Regions from separate parts of the Homo sapiens genome. Here all the other regions are linked to region 3. Evidence: promoter capture Hi-C in 16 types of primary human blood cells and fetal thymus (Javierre and others, 2016). All regions are on one chromosome and are shown on one strand. Each heading gives the region's core, a stretch centred on a gene start or on the middle of the fragment in contact. The rest is flanking DNA. Distances are from core to core; before and after follow the strand shown.

Region 1 (5,908 bases), core at 3,269-5,768, 570 kb before region 3:
TCTTGATGAGGTACAGAATATATCTCCAACAATGATAGTTTGTGGCCTTATGATAGTTGTTCTTTTATCAAGTGATCTATTGATGGGAAGGATTTATTCATTCATGTGTTACTGAAAAAATAGACTGAACACTTTAGAAGCAAATTATTTACTTCTCTGTCAATGGATTTTTACTCAAAAGGTACAGTATAGTATAATCTACATTATTTCTTTGTTATGGGATTTCTATTTTAGCTAGAGTTTCAAATATATGACAAATACTTTTTGATATCATGTTTTAAGAAAATTGTATATGTTATCCCTGCATAGGACATTTTACGCTTTGCTACAGTTTAAATTTCTATAATTAACTTTTATTATCAGAAAAATAAGTTATTTTCATTTTGTCAGACTACTTAGAAAAAAATCATTAACTGAAAAATTTATTTTTCAGATATGTGACTCCTCAAAATCCTGTGAAATCGATCCTATTAAATTGAAAGAGGGAGATAATGTAGAAAATAATAAGGTAAGTCCTTGTTATATTATTTATAATTGCATTAAAATTGGTCTTAATGGTGTACCTTTCTCCCACTTACATTATGATAAAGCCATATAGAGGGAAGCAGTGCTGTTTATTCTTCACATAAGCCTTTATTATTAGCAGCACTTCCAGCTCCTAGGATTAGTTTTTAGAATGTTATTTCCTCAGTGGTTTCACTTTATTTTTGTTCTTGATTGTCTCTTTTTGGCTCTAGTAACAATAGTGAACTTAAGCTATAGCTAGTTGCAGCCCCCGTTCTAGCCATTCCTTTGGGCTCAAACTGATCAGGCTAAGTGACACAGTGACTTTATCAGTCAGTAGTTTCAGTGGCCTCTGAAAAAACAATGATTGTGTTAGGGTCACAAATTTTTATTGCAGTGGATAATAGTGTCACAATGTCCTTGTGCTTGTGTATCCGAGTTATTTTGTGATTTCCTTTTGGATCATTTTATTCCCTCTTGCTTCTTGTGAGGTTTATTCATAGATTCACCTCTTACGCCTAGCAAATCTAAATTTAATTTATTAAATTAAGTCAGTATGTAAATTGTCCTTAAACTGAATGAGTTTGGAAAAGGGTAACAGTACTTTAAAAAATGTTAGATAGTGACTGTCTAATAAACCTCATTTTCTTACATTTTTCTTTCATGAAGGCTATTGAAGATGTGTGAACATCAAAATCTTAATGTTTACCTTTTTAAATCCTGCAGGAGAATCTGCGCTACTATGTAGACAAGTTATTCAATACAATTGTAAAATCAAGTATGAGCTGCCCCACTGTAATGTGTGATATCTTTTATTCTCTAAGGCAGATGGCTACTCAGAGATTTCCTAGTAAGTGCCTTGTTTTACTAAAACATGCCATTTATTTTTCTTTGACTTTTTTATAGATATTAATTACATGTTTGGTTTGTGAGATATTTAAGGTTTTTATTTATTTATTTATTTTTATTTTATTTTATTTTATTTTTTTTGAGACGGAGTCTTGCTCTGTCACCCTGGCTGGAGTGCAGTGGCGCTATCTTGGCTCACTGCAACCTCCATCTCCCGGGTTCATGCCATTCTCCTGCCTCAGCCTCCCGAGTAGCTGGGACTACAGGCGCCCGCCACCATGCCCAGCTAATTTTTTATATTTTTAGTAGAGACGGGGTTTCACCATGTTAGCCAGGATAGTCTCGATCTCCTGAACTCGTGATCCGCCCGCCTCGGCCTCCCAAAGTTTCTGGGATTACAGGCGTGAGCCACCACGCCCAGCCTAAGGTTTTTAAGTACAACCTTCTTTAGTTTTTCAAAATGATTCTATCTTTCTCATAAGAAATCTGATTTTTCTTGAAATCTCAAAATACATATTCCATTTTATTTCAGTATAATGCAACTTTATACAAAGAGCAAATCAAAATCACCATTAAAGAAAGGCAAAAATTCAGAACTGTAACATTATATAAGTAAGCACTTATACCAGATGCTTATGAGAGTTAAAAATACCTTTGTTATTTATACCAACTATCTTTTCCAGCTGCATGCATTCAGATAGTGAGAATCTTTAGTTCCATAAAATTGACTAGATTTGACAGTTTGAGAATGCTAATAAGGTTTTGGTGGTGAGAGGTTTTTACAGAAATGGTCTTAGACATTAGAAACCTTTCTGTTGTAACATACATAGAGTTTTAAGGTACATATATCAGTAACTGGCATGTTTTAATTTTGAAAAAGTAGCTATGTCAAGGTTTTGCTTAGAAACTTTTCATAAAATTAAGTGTTACTGTCGCTGCTAATACTTAGAATTATTCACATTTTAATATATTTCTGATAAGTAAATAAACTTGCTATAGGTAGCTTTCCAGATCTGTCTATAATGGGAGGTGGTGGGTAGGAGGGTAAAATTAGGCAGGTACTTAAATTACCAGTCTTAACCAGCTGTGCAAAACTGTAAGTTTATTTCTGTAACCATCTGAAGAGATTTTGCAGTTTTATGTTCTTTTAAGCATGTGCTCACCCTGTACACACATGTGTGCAGTTAACTGCACTTCTACTAAATTGACCCATTACTAAATTAGTGGGGCTGAGTTGTCTAACATGTAGATAAATTTAGATCTAAATGTCTTTGCTAATTATAGTTGCAAATAAGTAACTAAATCTAATCTTCATAACAAAAATAAGGGGAGCCAGAGGCACACGGAAAGGTGAAATGCTCATTGAAATTATATTTTTAAATAGTTAAATCATGATAACCACATTGACTACTTAGTAACACACACAGTGTTAGTGTGTTAGCCTCCATTGTCTCCTGTTCTCATCTTCACAAAACCACATGAGGTAGGTACTACTCCCATTAGGTGAGAAACTAAGGTTTAGAGAAGCTGAGTAACTTTACCAAGGTCTGTGGCGTGGCCAACAGGCAAGCAGGGCCTCAAACCTGGGCCTAGTCTACTCCAAACTACATGCTGCCATTCACTATACTCTATACTAACTGGTGATCTTGGCCTTAAATCTGTTTTAGCAGTTTAATTCTTGTTTATATAAATGATCTTAAACACTTTATGGGGTTTTTTTGGGTTTTGTTTTTGTTTTTGTTTTTGAGACTGAGTTTCACTCTTGTTGCCCAGACTGGAGTGCAATGGCACAATCTCGGCTCACTGCAACTCCGCCTCCCAGGTTTCCAGCCTCCCGAGTTGCTGGGATTACAGACATGTGCCTCCACGCCTGGCTAATTTTGTATTTTTAGTATAGATGGGGTTTCTCCATGTTGGTCAGGCTGGTCTCAAACTCCTGACCTCAGATGATCCACCTGCCTCGGCCTCCCAAAGTGCTGGAATTACGGGCGTGGGCCACCGCGCCCGGCCAACACTTTATGTTTTTATATACATGCAGATGTATCTCTTTAGTTATGTTTTTGTTGACTTAACTATTAATATGGTTATCATATCCTCAGTAGACTATAGTAGTGACAGTTTTGTTGCCATAAGTGTTTCATATTCTCTCGTTTTTGTTGTTCTTACTACCCTAGAAGAATGGGGGAAGGAGGGCAGAGCAGACAGCAGGTAGAAAGCAGATATTACTAAAGAATGACAAATTAAACGACTTGTTAATGGTTACCTACTGAATGACTTAGAAGAGTTAAAACTCGAACCAAACCTAAAGATTCTTTCCCTCACCATCTGCTTCACCACCATCTGTCTGATTGTTGGGTAAATTGTTGACTCCAGTCTGAAACGAAAGTTGTAGGTGAATGATCAAAGCCACCAGTAGTCTTCAGTTCATCTGCATTTTTATTTATGGACTGTTGATAGCTTTTTAAAGTAAACATTTCTGCCTAATTGTTTTTGTTGCATAACTTTTGATATTATCAAGATTTTTGGGGGGGATATTGAAACAAGAACCTAAAACTGAAAGTAGCCTTGTATCATACTCTTAAGGGATTCAGTGTTACCACTAGGTAGTGCTAGATACTACTTTTATTTCTGTTGTAATTTTAGCAGTCTCTTCTTGCAGGTGAGGAAAGAGGTATTTTTCAAATTAAAATATTTCTGAAAACCTAGCAGCTTTGTCTTTTTTCATATTATTTCTTATTTCTTTTGGATTTTTTTAATCATAGGGGTTTTCTTTTAATTGAGTCATAAATATCACTATCATTTCATCAACTCAGTTCTTACTAGACAAATTATGTTGCTCTCCTAGTTTACATGTCTTTTCTATATTTTTTAATTTATCATCTTTGTTTTTTAATTGTTTTTGTGCATGACATTTCACCATTTTTTTCCTGCAGATGACCCTCATGTTCAGTATTCTGCAGTGAGCAGCTTTGTATTTCTTCGTTTCTTTGCTGTAGCCGTAGTATCACCTCATACTTTTCATTTGCGACCTCATCATCCAGTAAGTGTTCATTCTTCTGAAAGCTTTATTCCATTTTTTTAATTTTTATTAAAATGAAGAAAAGATAAAATAAACCAATTTCACTAGGCTGTATTTTCTTATAACTGATACTTAAATTTACTCAGCATTTTTCTTGGCCATTTCAGTCTTTCAAGTGAGGCTAATAATCCTATTTTTTGTTGTTGTTAAAAGATGTTCTACAAGAGTAATAAAATGTTGTTAATTATTGAAGCTTGGTGATGAGTACAAAGGGGATTTATTATATTTTTTCATCTGCTACTGTGTGTGTTTGTAAATTTCCATAAGTTTTTTTTCATTAGTTACAGGTTTCATTTTGATAGGTTTTTTATTTAAACAAAATCTACTTTCCTGATTTATTAAAATAGGTTAATTTTGCAGATATTTTTAAATTGCACAGAAATTTGAAGAGGCTCTTCTCTAAGAAAGAAGGCTACAAGAGAAATTCCATTTAATTTAGAAACAGCATCTAAGATAGATTTCAGTAGCAATGAAACTGAAAGCATATAATTAGAAAATATTAAATGGCAGGTGAACTGGATAAGCATTAACAGTAAAAACAGAAAAAGAAACCAAGAATGCAGTATAGTGAAAGGCGTAGGAACTTTTATTGGAATATAACTTGTTAAATATATCAGTATTTTCACTTTTTATTTACCTGAGGTAATACTGTAAACATGAGATTTAAAAATTTCTTAAGCATATAAACTTTGTTCTGGAGTCCTGTTTAATTACCAAAAATCTAAATCTCCACTGCATAGATTTACATGTTTATTTCTTAATTTTTAAAATTCTTTATTTTTGCTATACTTCTGATTCCTTCTTATATGGTGTAATTTGGTTGATTCTTTAAGCTTTTATGTTCCAAATACTTTATAATCTTACCTAATTGCTCCTAGTTGCTGATTTGTATAACAAATAATAACAATAGTCCACATTTATTTAGTGCTTTGTACTAGGCCTTGTTCTAACTACTTTATGTGTTAACTTATTTGGTCCTCCTAGCAACCTGGTAAGGTAAATTCTGTTATCATCCACATGTGCAGATAAGGAAATCACAATACAGTAACTTTTCCAAGCTCACACAACTGACAAATTATGATTTGATCATACTCGATTTGAATTGGATTTAACTGGGATTCAAATTCAGTCAGTCTTTATCATCTGTGAGCTTAATCCTATCCCTTCCAACCTCTTAGACAGATGTTCAAGTACCTATAATGTATCATTCCATGCTCAGTACTGGAGATGCAGTGATGAGTAAGATACTCTTTGCCCTTAGGAAACTCACAGCCAAGAGGAGTTGCTCAATAGTGTAGGGAAAACAGATGAGTTTTAGAGTTAAACCAGGTTCTGAATACCCATTTCTTCTCTCAACGGCTACATGACATTGACACTCACTTAACTTTGTGAGAACTGAATAGAACCATGTTGCAGTGGCAGCACCACGCCCTTTCTTGCCAAAGGATAAATGGTCTGTGAGTAGCCCCAGCAGAG
Region 2 (6,386 bases), core at 3,733-6,232, 570 kb after region 3:
GGACACCAAAAGCAAGGAGGAATAGCTATTTTTATATCAGACAAAACAAACTTTAAAGTAACCACAGTTAAAAAAGACAAAGAGGGACATTACATAATGACAAAAGGCCTTGTCCAATAGGAAAATATCACAATCCTAAATATATATGCACTTAAGACTGGAGCTCCCAAGTTTATAAGACAATTACTACCAGACCTAAGAAATAAGATAGACAGCAACACAATAATAGTGGGGGATTTCAATACTCCACTCACAGTACTAGACAGGTCATCAAGACAGAAAGTCAACAAAGAAACAATGGATTTAAACTATACCCTGGAACAAATGGGCTTAACAGATGTTTACGTAACATTCTACCAAACAACTGCAGAATATACATTCTATTCATCAGCACGTGGAACTTTCTCCAAGATAGATCATATGATAGGCCACAAAACAAATCTCAATAAATTTAAGAAAATTAAAATTATATCAAGCACTCTCTCAGACCACAGTGGAATAAAACTGAAAATCAACTCCAAAAGGAACCTTCAAAACTATGCAAATACATGGAAATTAAATAACCTGCTCCTGAATGACAACTGGGTCAAAAATGAAATCAAGATGGAAATTTAAAAATTTTTCAAGCTGAACAACAATAGTGACATGACTTATCAAAACCTCTGGGATACAGCAAAGGTGGTGCTAAGAGGAAAGCTCATAGCCCTAAATGCCTACATCAAAAAGTCTGAAAGAGCACAAATAGACAATCTAAGGTCATACCTCAAGAAACTAGAGAAACAAGAACAAACCAAACCCAAACCCAGCAGAAGAAAGGAAATAAGATCGGAGCAGAGCTAAATGGAATTGAAATGGAAAAAAAAAAATACAAAAGACAAATGAAATAGGCCGGGCGCAGTGGCTCACGCCTGTAATCCCAGCACTTTGGGAGGCCGAGGCGGGCAGATCACAAGGTCAGGAGATCGAGACCATCCTGGCTAACACAGTGAAACCCCGTCTCTACTAAAAAAATACAAAAAATTAGCCCGGCGTGGTGGTGGGCACCTGTAGTCCCAGCTACTCAGGAGGCTGAGGCAGGAGAATGGCATGAACCCGGGAGGCAGAGCTTGCAGTGAGCTGAGATTGCGCCACTGCACTCTATCCTGGGTGACAGAGCAAGACTCCATCACAAAAAAAAAAAAAAAGAAACAAAAAGCTGGTTCTCTGAAAAGATAAATAAAATTGATAGACCATTAAAAAGATTAATCAAGAAAAGAAGAGAGAAAATCCAAATAAGCTCAATTAGAAATGAAATGGGAGATACTACAATTGACACCACAGAAATACAAAAGATCATTCAAGGCTACTATGAACACCTTTACACACATAAACTAGAAAACCTAGAGGAGATGGATAAATTCCTGGAAAGATACAACCCACCTAGCTTGAATCAGGAAGAATTAGATACTCTGAACAGACCAATAACAAGCAGCAAGATTGAAACGGTAATAAAAAAAATCACCAACAAAAAAAGTCCAGGATCAGATTCACAGCTGATCCTGTGACATTTAAAGACATTTAAAGAAGAATGTCACTATTCCACAAGACACAGAAAGAGGAAATCCTCCCTAAAGCATTCTATGAAGCCAGTATCACCCTAATACCAAAACCAGGAAAGAACATAACCCAAAAAAAAAAAAAAAAAAAAAACCAAACTACAGACCAATATTCCAGATGAACATAGATGTAAAAATCCTTAACAAAATACTAGCTAATTGAATCCAACAACATATCAAAAAGATAATCCACCATGATCAAGTGGGTTTCATACCAGGGATGCAGGGATGGTTTAACATATGCAAGTCAATAAATGTGATACATCACATAAACAGAATTAAAAACAAATCACATGATCATCTTAACAGACGCAGAAAAAGCACTTGACAAAATCCAGCATCCCTTTATGATTAAAACCCTCAGCAAAACTGGCATACAAGGGACATACCACAATGTAATAAAAGCCATCTATGACAAACCCACAGCCAACACAATACTGAATGGGGAAAAGTTGAAAGCATTCCCTCTGACAACTGGAATAAGACAAGGATGCCCACTCTCACCACTCCTCTTCAACATAGTACTGGAAGTCCCATCCAGAGCAATCAGAGAAGAGAAAGAAAGAAAGGGCATCCAAGTCAGTAAAGAGGCAGTCAAACTGTTGCTGTTTGCTGATGATATGATTGTATATCTAGAAAACCCTAAAGACTTCTCCAAAATGCTCCTAGAACTGATAAAAGAAGTCAGCAAAGTTTCAGGATACAAAACTAATGTACACACATCAGTAGCCCTCCTATACACCAACAGCAACCAAGCTGAGAATCAAACAAAGAACTCAATTCCTTTGACAATAGCGGCAAAAGTATTTTGTTTTATTAGAAAAATAAAATACTTAGGAACATACCTAACAAAGAAGGAGAAAGAACTCTACAAGGAAAACTACAAAACACTGCTGAAAGAAATCACAGACGAGGCAAACAAATGGAAACACATCCCATGCTCATGGATGGGTAGAATCAACATTGTGAAAATGACCATACTGCCAAAAGCAATCTACAAATTCAATGCAATTCCCATCAAAATACCACCATCATTCTTCACAGAACTAGAAAAAATAATCCTAAAATCCATATGGAACCAAAAAAGAGCCTGCATAGCCAATGCAAGATGAAGCGAAAAGAACAAATCTGGAGACATCACATTACCTGATTTCAAACTATACTATAAGGCTACTGTCACCAAAACAGCATGGTACTGGCATAAAAATAGGCATATAGACCAATGGAACAGAATAGAGAACCCAGAAATAAACCCAAATACTTACAGCCGACTGATTTTCAACAAAGCAAACAAAAACATAAAGTGGGGGAAAAGACACCCTATTCAACAAATGGTGCTGGGATAATTGGCAAGCCACACGTAGGAGAATAAAACTGGATCTGCATCTCTCACCTTATACAAAAATAAACTCAAGATGGATCAAGAACTTAAATCTAAGACCTGAAACTATAAAAATTCTAGAAGATAACATCGGAAAACCCCTTGTAGACATTGGCTTAGGCAAGGATTTCATGACCAAGAACCCAAAAGCAAATGCAATGAAAAGAAAGATAAATAGCTGGGACTTGATTAAATGAAAGAGCTTTTGCATGGCAAAGGGAAGAGTTAGCAGAGTAAACAGACAACCCACAGAGTGGGAGAAAATCTTCATAATCTATGCATCTGACAAAGGACTACTATCCAGAATCTACAATGAATTCAAACAAATAATCAAGAAAAAAAAAATCCTAACAAAAACTGGGCTAAAAACATGAAAAGGGCTGGGGGCAGTGGCTCATGCTTGTAATCCCAGCACTTTGGGAGGCTGAGGCAGGCAGATCACCTGAGGTCTGGAGTTCGAGACCAGCCTGACCAACAGGGAGAAACACTGTCTCTACTAAAAATACAAAATTAGCCGGGTGTGGTGGCACATGCCGGTAATACCAGCTGGTCGGAAGGCTGAGGCAGGAGAATCACTTGAACCTGGGAGGCGGAAGTTGCGGTGAGCCAAGATCACGCCATTGCACTCCAGCCTGGGCAACAAGAGCAAAACTCTGTCTCAAGAAAAAACAAAAAAACATGAATAGACAATTCTCAAAAGAAGATACACAAATGGCCAACAAACATATGAAAAAATGCTCAAGATCACTAATGATCAGGGAATTCCAAGTCAAAACTGCTATGCCGTATGTACCACCCTACTTCCGCAAGAATGGCCATAATCAAAAAAATCAAAAAATAATAGCTGTTGGTGTGGATGCGGTGAAAAGGGAACACTTCTACATTACTGGTGGGACTGTAAACTAGTACACCACTATGGAAAACAGTGTGGAGATTCCTTAGAGAACTAAAAGTAGAACTACCATTTGATCCAGTAATCCCACTACTGGGTATCTACCCAGAGGAAAAGAAGTCATTACACGAAAAAGATACTTGCCCATGCATATTTATAGCAGCACAATTCGCAATTGCAAAAATGTGGAGCCAACCCAAATGCCCATGAATCAATGAGTGGATAAAGAAACTGTGATATATATATATATATATATATATGTGGTATATATATATGTGATATATATATAATGATGGAATACTACTCAGCCATAAAAAGGAATGAATAAATGGCATTCGCAGAAACCTGGATGGGACTGGAGACTATTATTCTTATTCTAAATGAAGTAACTCAGGAATGGAAAACCAAACATCGTATGTTCTCACTCACAAGTGAGAGCTAAGCTTTGAGGATGCAAAGGCATAGGAATGACACAATGGACTTTCGGGACTCGGGGAAAGGTTGGGAAGGGGGAGAGGGATAAAAGACTACAAAATTAGGTTCAGTGTATACTGCTCGATGATGGGTACATCAAAATCTCACAAATCATCACTAAAGAACTTACTCATGTAACCAAACACCACCTGTTCCTCAAAAACCTATGGAAATAATATGGAAATAAAAATTTATATATTTGTATAAATTATTTAAACATAATATAATTATATATCTATATATCCTTTATAAATGAGAGTTCATTTCCAGCCTAAAATGAGTACAACATACAAACCCACGAGTCTGGCTCTCCATTGTGCTTTAAAGCATAGTGCACCAGAATATGAAATAGCTGGACAATTCCACAAAGGATTTCGACTAAACATTAAGTCGTCAGAGACTCAATTAACATACTGCTCCATATTTGCTTAATTACCTTAAACCAGTACCCTGGGTGTGGAAAGGGACGATTGAGCGAAGTCTTCCTCAGACTGCGGTTCACCTCACCAGAGCGAAGGAAGCTGCAGCGGGCTCCAGGAGCCCAGTGCGTCCCCACCGCAGGCCCCACCCACCCACGCCCCGCTTGCCGCAGGCCCCGCCCACCCAAGCCCGCCCTTGCCGCAGGCTCCTCCCTAGTGTCGTCGCTACAGAGGAGCAGAGGATGACGTGAGGACAGAGTCGCGAACATCTCCTCGGAGCGCAGCTGGGCCAGCGGTTCCCACAGCCCTGGAGCCCAACGTGCGCAGAAGCGCCTCTTGGAGCTCCTCTCCCACAGATCTCTCGTCCTCTTCCTGGGCTAGGCCGCCCCAGGCGCGGCCCCTGCGACTCCTGGCACGGCCCCGTGCTCGGCTGCCGCCCTGGCGCGCGCCACACTGTCGTCCCCGGACGGGCGCGGACCGGCTCGGCCGGGGCGCCGGCGGCTGGGGAGGGGTCGCTGGCCCCGGGGCCGCGCATGCGCCGCCACCAACTTGGGGCTGTCAGTGGAGGGCGAGTGCTGGTTCTCAGGGGAGGCGACGCCCTTCGGGGCCAACGGGCCTCGAGCCGAGGCAGCAGTGGGAACGACTCATCCTTTTTCCAGCCCTGGGGCGTGGCTGGGGTCGGGGTCGGGGTCGGGGCCGGTGGGGGCCCCGCCCCCGTCTCCTGGCCTGCCCCCTTCATGGGCCGCGATGATGGCGGCCCTGTACCCGAGCACGGACCTCTCGGGCGCCTCCTCCTCCTCCCTGCCTTCCTCTCCATCCTCTTCCTCGCCGAACGAGGTGATGGCGCTGAAGGATGTGCGGGAGGTGAAGGAGGAGAATACGCTGAATGAGAAGCTTTTCTTGCTGGCGTGCGACAAGGGTGAGAGTTAGGCCCCTTTCTCCTCTGGACGCCCCTGTCCTCCAGACCTTTAGTCCTCTCCCCCGCCTCAACTTATATCGGGGCATTCCCTCTGTCTCAGGCGCCGAGTGTCTTCCCGCCTCGCCTGCTGCCTCAGGCGGTCTTCTCCTCACCGCCTCTGCCCTGTGAGTGTGGAGCTGGCGGGAGAGTGGAGCTGGGGCTGCGCCCTCGGAGCGCTGCACCGTCGGGGGTGGCTCTGGCCTTGGGGTCCGGGGTTTAGGTAGCGCCTTGGGAGCCCCGACCCCAGCGTTTTAGCGCCGCCCTTGCTACTGACCGCATGAATGACCTGGTCTTCTCTCTGGCTCGCAGTTCATTCCTTCCGGGAGTCGAGAGGCTAGTTTCCGACACTCCAGTCGGAAAATTCCGTCACCTTACCTTAGGATGCCTCGTATGGAGGGTTCTCATCACCTGGTTTTTGTTTTTCTTAAAAACAAAACCAGACCCTCTATTATTTAGCTTCACCTGACCAGTGCTTTAGCCAGTGACTGTTGACTGGCATTAATAACGGAATATCCTAGGTGGAGATACATGAAGTAAGGACGGGACGGAAGAAATTCTGCCTTAGTTGCCAAAACTTTCTCTGGATTTACGGAACGCCTTTGATTGTTAGTGCTTTTTATTGGAGAGAAAGATTTATTGCTCCCAGATCTTTCTTTGGGAGATAAAG
Region 3 (6,158 bases), core at 2,640-5,139:
CTTGAATCCAGGAGGCCACTGCACTCCAGCCTGGGTGACAGAGAGAGACTCTGTCTCTAAATAAATAAATAAATAAATAAATAATCCTTTTCCGAAAAAAAAGACAAAAAAGTAGTAATTAACATATGCTACTGGAATATAGTATAGTTTCACTAAGGACAAGTAATGATAGGGTAAAGAAAACGAAGCATATAAAATCTGGGTTTTAGTAAGGCAACTGTCAAAGTTCCTCACATATTCCTTATGAGAACTTGGAAACATATGAGGTAGATGATGATTAAAATTAGCTGAATTTCTAATTGGGTGACCAACCTGAACCAAAGAATTAATAATAAAATTTTTTATCACCTTTAAGAGAGGTCTTTAGCAGGTAAAGAACTCTGACCTCAGCCCTGCCTAGACAGCATTTTAGTGAAAAATTTGCATGAAAGCAATGCCAAAATTATCAAACTTGTATGTTTATCAAATGCATAGATTTGATATTTATTGGATGACCAAATCAGGATTTTTTTAATGTCAACAGACTAGAAGCAATCTTACAAAATAAAAATATAGATACATGTAAAGTCCTACCAAAAAATATTCTATTAAAGAATTGAGAGAGTATGACTTTAAGAACAGAGAGAGCATGAACAAAATAATTCAACAATTTTAGTTGACAAGGAAACCAATAGTAAAATAGGTATCATACATACATAGTACTGGGATGCCACAACCCATTCTAAATGACTTATATATATATATTAATTATCTTCAGAATTGTGTAAGATAGACACTATTATTAACCCCATATTAGAGATGAGGAGACTTAGGCCCAGAGTGTTTACATAACTTACTCAGGGTTACCCAGCTGATAAACTGCAGAGCTAGGATCTAAACACAGGAAGGTTAGCCCCAAAGTTAATCTTCTTAACTAGTAAATTATTATAAAGTAACAGTGTAATGTGGTTGCCAAAGAAGCAAGTCTACTCTTAAAGTACATGCTTTAAAATTAGAGAGGTAACTTAGTCTTCTATACTAGTTAATACCTAATTTGGGGTACCATGCTTGTCAGAAGAATGTGGATGAACTAAACAAATCCACAAGTGGGCTATGAGTTCTGTGAGGAGATGTGAATGAAAACAATGACACAAAAGTCACTAGCAGAGGTTAAAGACTGAGAATATTTTCTAACACTCAGTGGAATATAAGTATCTTCAAATAGTTGAAAACCCACAATACAGAAGAGACAGTGAGGACACAATTTCTAGTTCAGTGAAAGAAATAATTTTATAAAAATTAGAGTTGTCCAAACATGGCGAGGTGTGTGCCTATAACCCCAGCTACTTGGGAGGGTGAGGTGGGAGGATCACTTGAGCCCAGGAGTTCCAGACAAGCCTGAGCAACATAGAGAAACCCTGTCTCAAAAAAAAAAAAAAAAAGAATTGATCAAATATCTTTGCCTCAGAAACTATGACACTATAAATAGTCTCTCCAAAAAATATACAAATATGCATAATTTTGCATAATATTTCCAAGAGTTCACAAGCCTACTTTCATATCTATTCATGCCGCACACCTAGAGTCATGTATCCCAGATTAAAACGGAAAGGATTTAAGTATGAAGAGGTGAGTGTATTTGATTCTCTTTAAAATCCACTACAATTTAAAATTCTATGATCTAAAAGAACTCTCAATCTATGCCTTCTAGTTTCTTCTGAGATCCATTATAACACATATTGCAATAAGAGTTTAAAAGATGATGACAAGGAAGTACATCCCACTTCATCAGTTATATTGAGGGCACACGGCTCAGACAGTTAAGAATTTTAGCTGCCAGAGAAAAACTTCCATGTGCCACTTGGACTACACATTCACAAGAGTCAGGGTGGGAGGAATTACATGATCACAAAATGAGAATATGAAGTATTACACACTGCAAAAATTCAGCTTTCCTTTTTAAACACCTAGAAATGAAGAGAACTGAAAAGTAAGAGTTTAGTAAGTCTTGAACCTTTTATTAACAAATGTAAGGGCCACAGTGCTCAAACTGCAACTGCACAGCCAGAACAACGCTACAGACACCATGTCTACTCTTAGACTAGACTAGTTACAGGCACAAGATGTTCTAATAAATAACAAACACATCCAGAGCCAGTACACAAGTGTGACAGAATCTGGGGTCTAGGCATTTGATTTTTCTCCTGGTGCTGTCTGAGAATGGACACTGCCATTAAAGATTAATTACAGTAATCTGATAGTGATAAAGTTTAGCTAAATAACAGGCTAAACAATGAAATGGAAAAGGAAGCTGCAATATAGATCAATTAAACTATTTTTATATCTACTTTTAAAGAGAGACAGGGACATGATTATGCCATATAGAAAATAGATGAATATATATTCACGAGCTGAAAAAAAAAACAGGTAAATTATTTATTAGGTGAAGATAAATTCAAGCCATGAAGAGAAAACACATGGCCCAGAAAAAAAAAAAAGTAGGTTGTGCAAGTCAAATGAAAAGACACAAAACTCAGATCTCGGGGAGACAGGGGAAGGAGAAGGCTGAGCTAAAAGAGAGCCTTACTGAAAGAAAGCAAATAAGTGAGAGGGAGTCTGTGCCCTCTGAGATGGAATGAGGAAAAGATAAAAGTATTCATGGGCTCAAAGGCAGCTTCAGCAGTGAATATGGAAAAGGAATGAGCCCGTTCACTGTCTCAACACTAAAAGGGAAATAATATAGGGTCTTTTTCTAAACCAGCATCCATGGCAGTCAATAATAAAAGTGCCTAACTAATGCAAGGCATTTAATACGTGGAGGATTTTCTTACGATTGCATTCCATACATTAGTCCATTCACTCCCCGAAACACACCGAATAGGTGGATGCATCTAATTTACAGATGAAGAAACCGAGATCACACAATGGGAGATAGCACAGGCTGGTAAGAGAGACTGGGGCGCTCATCCACTTCGTTGTACTGTCTCTCAGCGAGATCCTAGGAAAACCCTTACACTTCTTTGTGAAGACAGACCTTGGCTTTCCAGATTTTCTCAAAGGAGTCTGGGCCCAAAAAGCGATCCTCTACTTCAGAGAAAAGTTCCTTTATGGGGCATATGAGGTTCTTCCAAGCACACAAAGCTTAGAAACTCTTTAAAAACAAACAAAACACCTGGTGGACACAGAGGCCTGTGAGTCATGAAAGGAGAAGGGAAAAATCGGAAAACCAGATTTAGAAGCCATCCTTCTTTGAAGAGAACGAGAAAGTAGAAAGCAGCCCTTCCCCTCTTCCACGAGGCGTGACTCAGGGACGTTACCTCCCCCGATTTGCTCTATGCACTAAGAGGGTGACCCTCCTCTGCTTTCGACTCTGGCCCAGACACTCACGGGTTACCCGGCCAGGCCTGGAGAACCCAGGTCTAAACAGATGGGACTCGTGGGGGAACAAGGGGGCCCCTGTGCGCAGGGAGGGAAACCTACCCAGGAACGCGCCCGGCCGGGTCCAAAGGCCCTCCGCGCGCGGGCCCGCGCCCTCGCCCCAGACCTTACCGCCTTCGGCTGCAGAAGAACTGGCGGCCAAGCGAGGCTGTCGGGCCGAGCCAGGAGCGCGTCTTCGGGCGCCGCCGCTTCTGTGGCGCCCGCGCTTAGGCGGCGGCCGGGTCCCGGTGGACTCACACCCGGGGAGACGCGGCCTGCCCGGTCAAGGCCCAGGAGTTTGAGGCCCCAGAACGCCAACCGTGCGCGCGCCCTCGAGCCTGCCCAAAGATGAAGGGTCAGGGCGCGCCCCGCGGGCCGGGCAGCTGCGGCAGCGCCGCAGCCGAGATCGCTACCGATTTCGTCCGCCCTCTCCCTGCCCAGCTACAGCCCCGCTTCCCCCGCGCGAGCTTTGGCGGCGGAGCAGCACAGTGCGCGCCGATTGGCCCTCAGAATGTGCGACGCCTGGCGCCGCTCCCCACGGATTGGCCGGGCCGGCAGTGCGTGCACGGAGTAAACAAACCCCGCCCCCAGGCTTCCCTTTGAGAGTAGGGGGCCAACAGATGGAGGGGCGGGACTCGTGCACTCAGCCACCGCCCCTTGGTTCCCCCTGTGGCCTCCCTGGGAGCCCTCCGCAGGACCCGACCACCCCGCTTCCCCGCCGCCTCCAGGGACAGCTGCGGGCCTGAGGCCTAGAATTTTAGACACACTTCCTTCATCACTCCTATCTCATCCCCCCTACTCCCACCCTGCGACTTGGGTGGGAATCTCTTTTCCAACTGACCCCGAAGCCAGAAAACCCCAGCTCTCTTGGAAGGAGGGGGACTGGGGCAGTTCCATTCGGTCCCCAGGCCTTTGCGGGGTCGCCCTGGGGGAGCATCAATAAGGGACAGGGGGGCGAGTGATCGTGATTGAGGCTATGCGTGGGGCCAACTGTGGGACACCTTGAAATTATTCAGACAATGAGTTAGAGACCACTGGGAATGTGGAGGTTCTTCAATATCAAGGCAAGTTAATACCCAAACCAGGACAGGTCATTCTGTCCCGCGGAAACTGCACACACCCCAAATACCCGTACACTTGGTTCCATATGAAAAGATTTTGTTCATTCGTTCGTGCCGAAGTTAAAAACCCCGTGTGAACAGCGCATTAAAACGATTAGATCTTTCTCATTTTACTCCAGTCAAATCTTATAGATCTTCTATATGCCACTTTGTTTGTTTTTGAGACGGGGTCTTGCTCTCACCGAGGCTGGAGTGCGGTGGCAGGATCACGGCTCATTGGAGCCCTGACTTCCCAGTCTCAGGTGATCCTACCACCACAGCCTCCCGAGTAGCTGGGACTACAGGCCCGCGCCACCACACCCGGCTGTTTCGCCATGTTTCCCAGGCTGGTTTGGAACTCCTGGACTCAAGAGATCCTCCCGCCTGGGCCTCCCAAAGTGGTGGGATTACAGGCGTGAGCCACCACGCCCGGCCCCAAACACTATTCTTGATATGGGGAGACATCAGTGGACAAAATAGAGACAAAAACTCCTGCCTTCATGGAGCTTACATTCTAGCAGGATGGGAAAGATAATATGCAAAAGAATACGTAAAACAAAAACTATATTACATGCTGGTATGTGTGCTATGGGAAAAAAATATAAGCAGAGGTGTTGGAGGAATGGCTTCAGTCCTAAATAGAGTGATCTGGGAAGGTAGCACGGAGAAGGTGGTATTTAAGCAAATGCCTAAAGGAGATGAGATAGGTAAGAGAGCACTTTCAGATCTTTCTCTGGGGCAGGGTGGAGAGACAATTGTATGCATAATTGCATGTAACTAGTCCTGAGAGTCCAAGAATGTCAAATGCAGTACTCCACTGACTGATTCTAAAATGCAAAAACCCCAGTGATTACTTCACATTCTCCAGTAACAAATCAATAAAAATTTAGTTTCCACAAAAAATATAACTTTAAGAAAACTTAAAGTTATATTCAACAAATACTTTTCACTCTAGGTACTACGTATACAAAAATGAGCAAGACAGACAAAACATCCACCCTCAAGGAACTCAGTGTAGCAGAGGAAATGGATTGTAAACCACCTCAATTCAATGCGTAAATAACCATGATGGAAGTACACACACAAAGTGCTTGGGCTAATGTAGGGAAAGGGGTCGCTGTCATAGAGGAGCTGTAACTATCTTAGGATCTCTTTATCTATAAAAGATAGTACTAAAAGATTCAGTACTAAATTTGGAGTGAAGTTATGGCTATGAGGGATTCCCTAACCTCTTTATAGGTCAGAGTCTGAAGATACTAGGTTGAACCACATGAAATTGCTGATATTGGGCAATTTTCATATGGTTCAACTTACTCTCTTGCAGAGGTAGTATGAGGATTTTGCTATGTAATGCATGTAGTAAGTGTTCAATAAATGATGGCAATTATTATATTCATCGTATAATATAGCTTTTGAAAATAAAGATTTAAAAGTCAATGTTTTATAACACCTTCCAACGCCATTACATAAAATGGGCAGTGAAAGTTTCAAATTTTCCATATCCTAGTTTGATTTAGTTGTGAATTTCCATGACCTAATCAGGGCATGTTGTAAAAGACAGTAAATGTTAGTTTCACAGCAGGCCAAGAAATTCAGAATAAGGAGGAACAGCTTGGTTTTTAAGCCAAAAACTGAGAATTCTCCAGAACAGAATAAATTGTC
Region 4 (6,029 bases), core at 1,522-4,021, 850 kb after region 3:
GTAGCAATGGTTGCACAACAATGTGAATGTACTTAAAGCCACTGAACTGTACACTTAAAATTGCTAAAATGGTGAATTTTAAGTTATGTGTATTTATCACAATGAGAAATATAATAGCCTATCAATCACAGCAGCATCTCCAAACATTTGAAAAGTAGTTGTATATGCATCTGAAATCTATTATTCATACAATCGACAGTTTTGCCCCACCTTCGAAATCTTCAGTCATTCCACAGCGAGCCTCTGAGGGCCATTTGGACTTTCTTTGGGCACAATTGATTAGACCAAGAATGAGCGGTTAGCCCCAGTTGGACTATTCAGAACCTTGTCCTAAGAATTTGGAATTTGATTTTAGAAACTTGTTATTAGTCTCTGTGTAGAGGTAAAGGTGAGGTAATATTGTTGGGAGTTATAGGGCAGTCATCTTTTTCCATGTTCATTTTTTATTCAACAAATATTTATTTTTTGTCTACTCTGTGGTAGGCATTGTGCAGGATGCTGGGATTCAGTGGCATCCCTGCCCTCCTGAAACAGAGCAAGCCTGACCGTAGGGAGATGATCTCTAAAGTTATTTCTCATATTTTTGTTAGACCTGATGTTTTGCACACTGTTTTCTAGTAAATGAACAACACAGTATGCCATGATTTTTTAAAATTACATTTAACTTCCTCTCTATTTTTTAGCACGTTTTTCAGCACCAGGACAAGCATCATTGCTCAAGGAGAGCTTGGTTGACAACAGGAAGTTAGAAGGAGTCTGAATTGTAACAAGTGTGGCAAGAGCACCAAGATCACTGTGTGTGTGTGTTCACAGAAAATGTACCAAAGGTGGGTGTTTTGTTTACCAGTGGCAGCAGCGCCACCACGTGGCAAAATAGTAAATGATGTTTGTAATTTCTATGCCTGCCTGCATAGAAATTACTCAATTCTTGAAGGAAAAAAAAAAGCAAAAATTGGGCATGAAAGGGGATCTGTATTATTTCACAATTGGTACTTAAGGGGAGACTTTTAAGTCTGTTTCAAATTAGCATAATTGGAATCTTCTTAAAGTGAGGCAACACTGTGCTAAGGTCTTCATCCTGCCCTCGCAGAAGTTAATTAACCCCAGAGGTGAAATCTTGAGAGCTGGACAGACACTCCCAGTGGTTCTAGAGTATCCTTCATTAGGTCTTTCCTGACTTCTCCCAAACCAATCTTCTCCTGTGTTTCCATAAAACTGTTTCTGGTGCTCATTTCATTCCTTAACAAATATTCATTGAGTACCTGCATGGTGCTTACTCTGTTCTAGGTATTGCAGATGCAGCAGTGAACAAATCAAACTAAAATTTCAGCCTGTACTTCTTAGCATCTTATTGTGATACATCTGGGAGTGTTTTATGCCCTGCAAGCCCTTTGACAACAGGGACCTGTCTTATCCCATCCTCACTGGAACCACACCTTCTACCCATTGAATTCCCAAGTAATGATTTCAGAACTCAACTGATTAAAGATGACTATATTTATTAGGACCATTCCCAAGTCAGTTCTCTGGTGGGATCAAAGCTGTGTCCTTTCAGCCAGGGACAAAATACAGAAACAGAAAGTTCATTATAGATCCTATGGTAAACTGAATAATGGCCCTCCAAAGATGTCCACACCCTAATCCCCAGAACCTGCAAATATATTGCCTAACATGGCAAAGGGACTTTGCAGCTGTGATTAAGGCTCTTGAGATGGGAGATTATCCTGGATTGTCATAGTAGAGCCAATGTAATCACAAGGGTCCTTATAAGAGGGAGGGAGCAGAGTTGGAGAAGAGATAAGGGTGGAGGCAAGTGTCAGAAGATGCTAATGGAGGAGAGGGCCACAGACCAAGGAATGCAGGTGAATTCTAGAAGCTGGGAAGGGGAAAGAAAAGGATTATTCTTTAGAGACTCCAAAATAAGCACGGGCCTGGTGGTACATTTTATATTTCTGACCTCCAGAGCTATAAAATACATCTGAGTTGCTGTAAGCCACTAACTTTGTGGTAATTTGCTACAGCAGCAATAGGAAACTATACAGATTTCTACCTGTCCTCCTCCTAATCTGCGTTCCACACTGCTCATTTTCACTGGTGTGCAGAGTGGGACATTTCTACTTTGTTCCCCTATTTTCCCAAGTCAGGGAGATGTCCTGGTTTGTCTTGACACAAGCCTCTAACAATGTTTCTCTAACAGGGCTGTGTGACCATTGGCATTCTTTGGTGTATCCTCACAGTCCCTTAGTTTTCTTATGAGAGTTTTAAATTCTATTCAGTTCCACAGTTAGCTAAAAAAAAGTTAATGTACAATTCAAGGTACAACCCAAAAAGTTATCCTTATCCTCATAAGAATACTAAAATCATCTCATTAGAGTCAGGAATGAGACAAGCATGTTTGGCCGGGCGCGGTGGCTCACGCCTGTAATCCCAGCACTTTGGGAGGCCAAGGCGGGCGGATCATGAGGTCAGAAGATCGAGACCATCCTGGCTAACACGGTGAAACCCCATCTCTACTAAAAATACAAAAAATTAGCCGGGCGTGGTGGCGGGCACCTGTAGTCCCAGCTACTCGGAAGGCTGAGGCAGGAGAATGGCGTGAACCCGGGAGGCGGAGCTGGCAGTGAGCAGAGATCGTGCCACTGCACTCTAGCCTGGGCAACAGAGAGAGACTCCATCTCGATAAAAAAAAAAAAAAAAAAAAGACAAGCATGTTCATTAGCACCACTCTTAACATTATTCTGGGGGTACTGGCTAATGTAATTATACAAGAAAAAAGTATAAAAATGGGAAAGGAGGAGGCAAACTGGTAATTATTTGCAAATATGATTGTATACCTGAAAGTTCAAGGGAATAAACTGAAAACCTATGTAAATAATAAAAGAATTCAGTAAACACATTACACAACATTAATATATCAATAAACAGCTTATTTAGGACATACATAAATACAAAAACTTACTATAATCACAGTAACAACAGAAAAGACAAAATACCTAACAATTAAAGTAACAGGAAATAATGCAAAGTTAATGTGAAGGAAATGGAACAAAACTTGAAAAAGAAGAAAGGTATGCCATGTTGTTTTGATAGAATCTTACCACTATAGCAATGTCAAAATAAAGCCTTATGTGTTTTAAGACCACTGTTACTAACAACTTTTGTTATTAACAGATGAAATTGATGAGGGAAAGTCTTCTTTCATTTTCTTTTCATAACTTCATTCTCCACCCAGCCTGTAATATTACCTGGTCTTGTCTCGTGAGTTTCAGTAAATATGGGGATATGTACGCTTCGCACTGGCCAAAGCCAGGTCACAAGTTAAGTGAGGCCTTATCTTTGGTGGTCCAAGTCAAGCCCACCTTTGGGTTGCCTGGCCATGGCAAGAGAGAGCTCCCCAGATTTGCCGTGTGCTGGTTCTCATGACCTGCCACAGGAACCTTGAGTCCTCCTTTATCACACTCACACACACACACACACACACACACACTCAGGAACGCTCATTTCCATTTCCACAGTACGCCATCTGGACTCTCCTAGATTTTATTAACCTTGTTGATAAAATAATTCCTACACAGTAAAGGTTTCCTTCTCACTAGGATCATAGTTAAAATGGCAATTTCTATTATTTTCAACATGGCACCAGTGTATTCTTGGGCTATATACTTTTTGACATCATTTTTAAAAAAATGCCACTGCTAATTATTATTATTATTATTATTATTATTATTTTTTGTAGAGACGGAGTCTCGCTTTGTTGCCCAGGCTGGAGTGCAGTGGTGTGATCTCAGCTCACTGCAACCTCTGCCTCCTGGGTTCAAGCATTTCTCCTGCCTCAGCCTCCTGAGTAGCTGGGACTACAGGTGCACGCTGCCATGCCCAGCTAATTTCTTTTGTATTTTAGTAGAGAAGGGGTTTCACCATGTTGCCCACGCTGGTCTCAAATTCCTGAGCTCAGGCAATCCACCTGCCTTGGCCTCCCAAAGTGCTAGGATTACAGGCGTGAGCCACTGCGCCTGGCTGCCACTGCTAATTATTATTGTCAAAGGAATCTGTATATAATCAATAAGTGAGTCAGGTAATTTTTGTGTGTGTGAGAAAGGGGGAGCAGCTGCTGTTGCTACTAAAACCTTATTCATAACACTTACGTTGTGGGGTGGGTGTGGGGCAGGCAGTCAAGTGCAGCAGAAGGAATTTTCCATTCCACACTGACCACACCTCCGTGAAGGCTGTTTCCTAATTATTCCTAGAAGCAGCTAGGATCTGTCTTAGCAGAAGACATTAAGTCTGATTTTTAGTTGTCTCTCCTTTTATCTTCTTTCTTCAGAGCCTAGCACAAGCTAGAAACTCAATAAATGCCAAAGAAGCAAATGGAGTGTTCCTTTTACCAGCCTATATCCTGAAACCCAGAGAGCAGGGAAAAACTGTTTAAAAACTGTCTAGAATGAAAATGCCACCAAGTAGGAGCAGTCCATTGGCACAATACAGGAGGCTGTAGCTTTGGGGCAATCATTTTTTAAGGTCTCTATCTTTCAGCATGCACAGGTTCCACAGCTGTTTGTATTGTTAAATACTTTCTCCACTCCACTTTTTTCCTCCTTAAAGAAATCAAAACATTTTTGGTGGGGAGGTCTAAAAATTATTGTGAGCCCTAGGCACTGAGTCTCCTGTACCTTACTAACAAGTCAGTTCTGGCTGGTGCCTGGGGGAACTGGTTGGTAATGTTTTGATCATCACCCCAGGTAAGTATTACACTGTACATCAGAAGTAGAAAACTGAAATGCCTACAAGCAGGCTGGGTATGGGGAATTTGTCCACCGTGTATGATGAGTTGGTGGCTAAACTGGTGTTCATAGCCCCCTTCCCTAGAAGTCGCTGCAGGCCACCTCACCTGGATTGTCCCCCAGTGTTGCCAGACTTCCCCATTTTTCAAGAAAGGCTAGAAACCCTGAGTTTTATGTAAAATCTCTCTGTTTTAAAATGCTAGCTCAAATTTCAAAGAAAAAATCTCCCTGAATGAACCAAACAAAACATCTCAGTATTGTATATGGCACTACTTTGTAATTTCTCTTGAACGTATCTGCTGCAGGGAGAAGCCTTAAAAACAAATGGCAGGTGTGGGCACCAGAAAATCAACACATCGGGAAGAGAAAAATGGCATGGTTTTACTGTAATTGTAAAAAGGTAATACTAGTTGCAGTAAATTGCATGATTCTTACTGTTTATGTGTAGTCCCTTAGCACTAATCTAATTATTCAGATTCCATAAAATTCCATTTGGATTATTTTCATGCTATTTCACTTTCCTGAATTTGTAATTTGAGTAATAGGGCCAGAATTTCATGACGTAATAGGGCCAGAATTTCACGTATCAAGAATTCTTACTCATAATTGTGATGTTCAATTTTTTTTTTTTTTTCCTGAGATAGGGTCACTCTGTTGCCCAGACTGGAGTGCAATGGCAAGATTCCCAGTGCTCTGGTGGTCCTCCCACTTCAGCCTCCTATCTGGGACTACAGATGCATGCCACCACATCTGGCTGATTTTTAAATATTTTTTTGTAGAAATAAGGTTTTGCCATGTTGCCCAGGCTGGTCTCGAACTCATGGGTTCAAGCCATCTGCCTGCCTTGATCTGCCCGCCTTGGCCTCCCAAAGTGCTAGGAGTACAAGCCTGAGCCACTGTGCCTGGCAATGATTTTGAATTTTTAAAAGCGTACTTAACCCTTAATAAAGGCCCGTATTATTTCTAGTCACATCATATTTGTCTGACTTGCTTTGGGGCTTACAATATAAAAAAGAAGAGAGGAAAGAAGTCTGCATTCTTTTGTTTTTGACTCTTCAGGAGTATTTAGTAAAAATTATTTTTAAAATAAGTAGGACTTTGGGGATTTGACTGAAAAGCTACACATATTCACTTTCTAGTGACAAAATCAGCCTGTGGCATTGTCAGAACACCACAAGGCATACCCAGTCCCACTTCTCCTCTTCATCTCAGCTGATGATTTCACTTTCTAATCCTATAAACAGTTAA

The links. Contacts are between HindIII fragments. The CHiCAGO score rates a contact against its expected background, and 5 or more counts as called.
Region 1: a contact is called between a fragment that was not itself captured here and the fragment with the promoter of TFDP2 in region 3, in 1 of 17 cell types (total B cells). The highest score is 5.1, in total B cells.
Region 2: the fragment with the promoter of TRPC1 here is called in contact with the fragment with the promoter of TFDP2 in region 3 in 14 of 17 cell types (fetal thymus, activated CD4 T cells, erythroblasts and 11 more); the score reaches 17.0 in fetal thymus.
Region 4: a fragment that was not itself captured here is called in contact with the fragment with the promoter of TFDP2 in region 3 in 1 of 17 cell types (naive CD4 T cells); the score reaches 5.6 in naive CD4 T cells.

The regions. Positions count from the first base shown.
Region 1 is chr3:141,572,714-141,578,621 of GRCh38, forward strand. RASA2 (RAS p21 protein activator 2) reads left to right here. Exons shown (of 24, transcript NM_006506.5): 12 at 1-10; 13 at 434-508; 14 at 1,231-1,354; 15 at 4,287-4,393. Among named protein-coding and RNA genes, the nearest start is that of RASA2-IT1, 51 kb to the left of the region's middle. The HindIII fragment of the contact is 209 bases long and covers 4,415-4,623 here.
Region 2 is chr3:142,719,052-142,725,437 of GRCh38, forward strand. TRPC1 (transient receptor potential cation channel subfamily C member 1) reads left to right here and starts at 4,983. Exons shown (of 13, transcript NM_001251845.2): 1 at 4,983-5,680. The coding sequence starts at 5,509. RefSeq lists a silencer at 5,227-5,276 and an enhancer at 5,535-6,386. The HindIII fragment of the contact is 1,344 bases long and covers 4,310-5,653 here.
Region 3 is chr3:142,145,655-142,151,812 of GRCh38, forward strand. TFDP2 (transcription factor Dp-2) reads right to left here and starts at 3,890. Exons shown (of 13, transcript NM_001178139.2): 1 at 3,529-3,890. RefSeq lists silencers at 3,386-3,435, 3,666-3,735, 3,796-4,005, 4,116-4,165 and an enhancer at 3,535-4,035. The HindIII fragment of the contact is 3,426 bases long and covers 3,119-6,158 here.
Region 4 is chr3:142,993,314-142,999,342 of GRCh38, forward strand. It overlaps PAQR9-AS1 (PAQR9 antisense RNA 1), which reads left to right. Exons shown (of 5, transcript NR_125393.1): 3 at 684-827; 4 at 5,087-5,181. Among named protein-coding and RNA genes, the nearest start is that of U2SURP, 5.2 kb to the right of the region's middle. RefSeq lists an enhancer at 5,695-6,029. The HindIII fragment of the contact is 9,415 bases long and covers 1-6,029 here.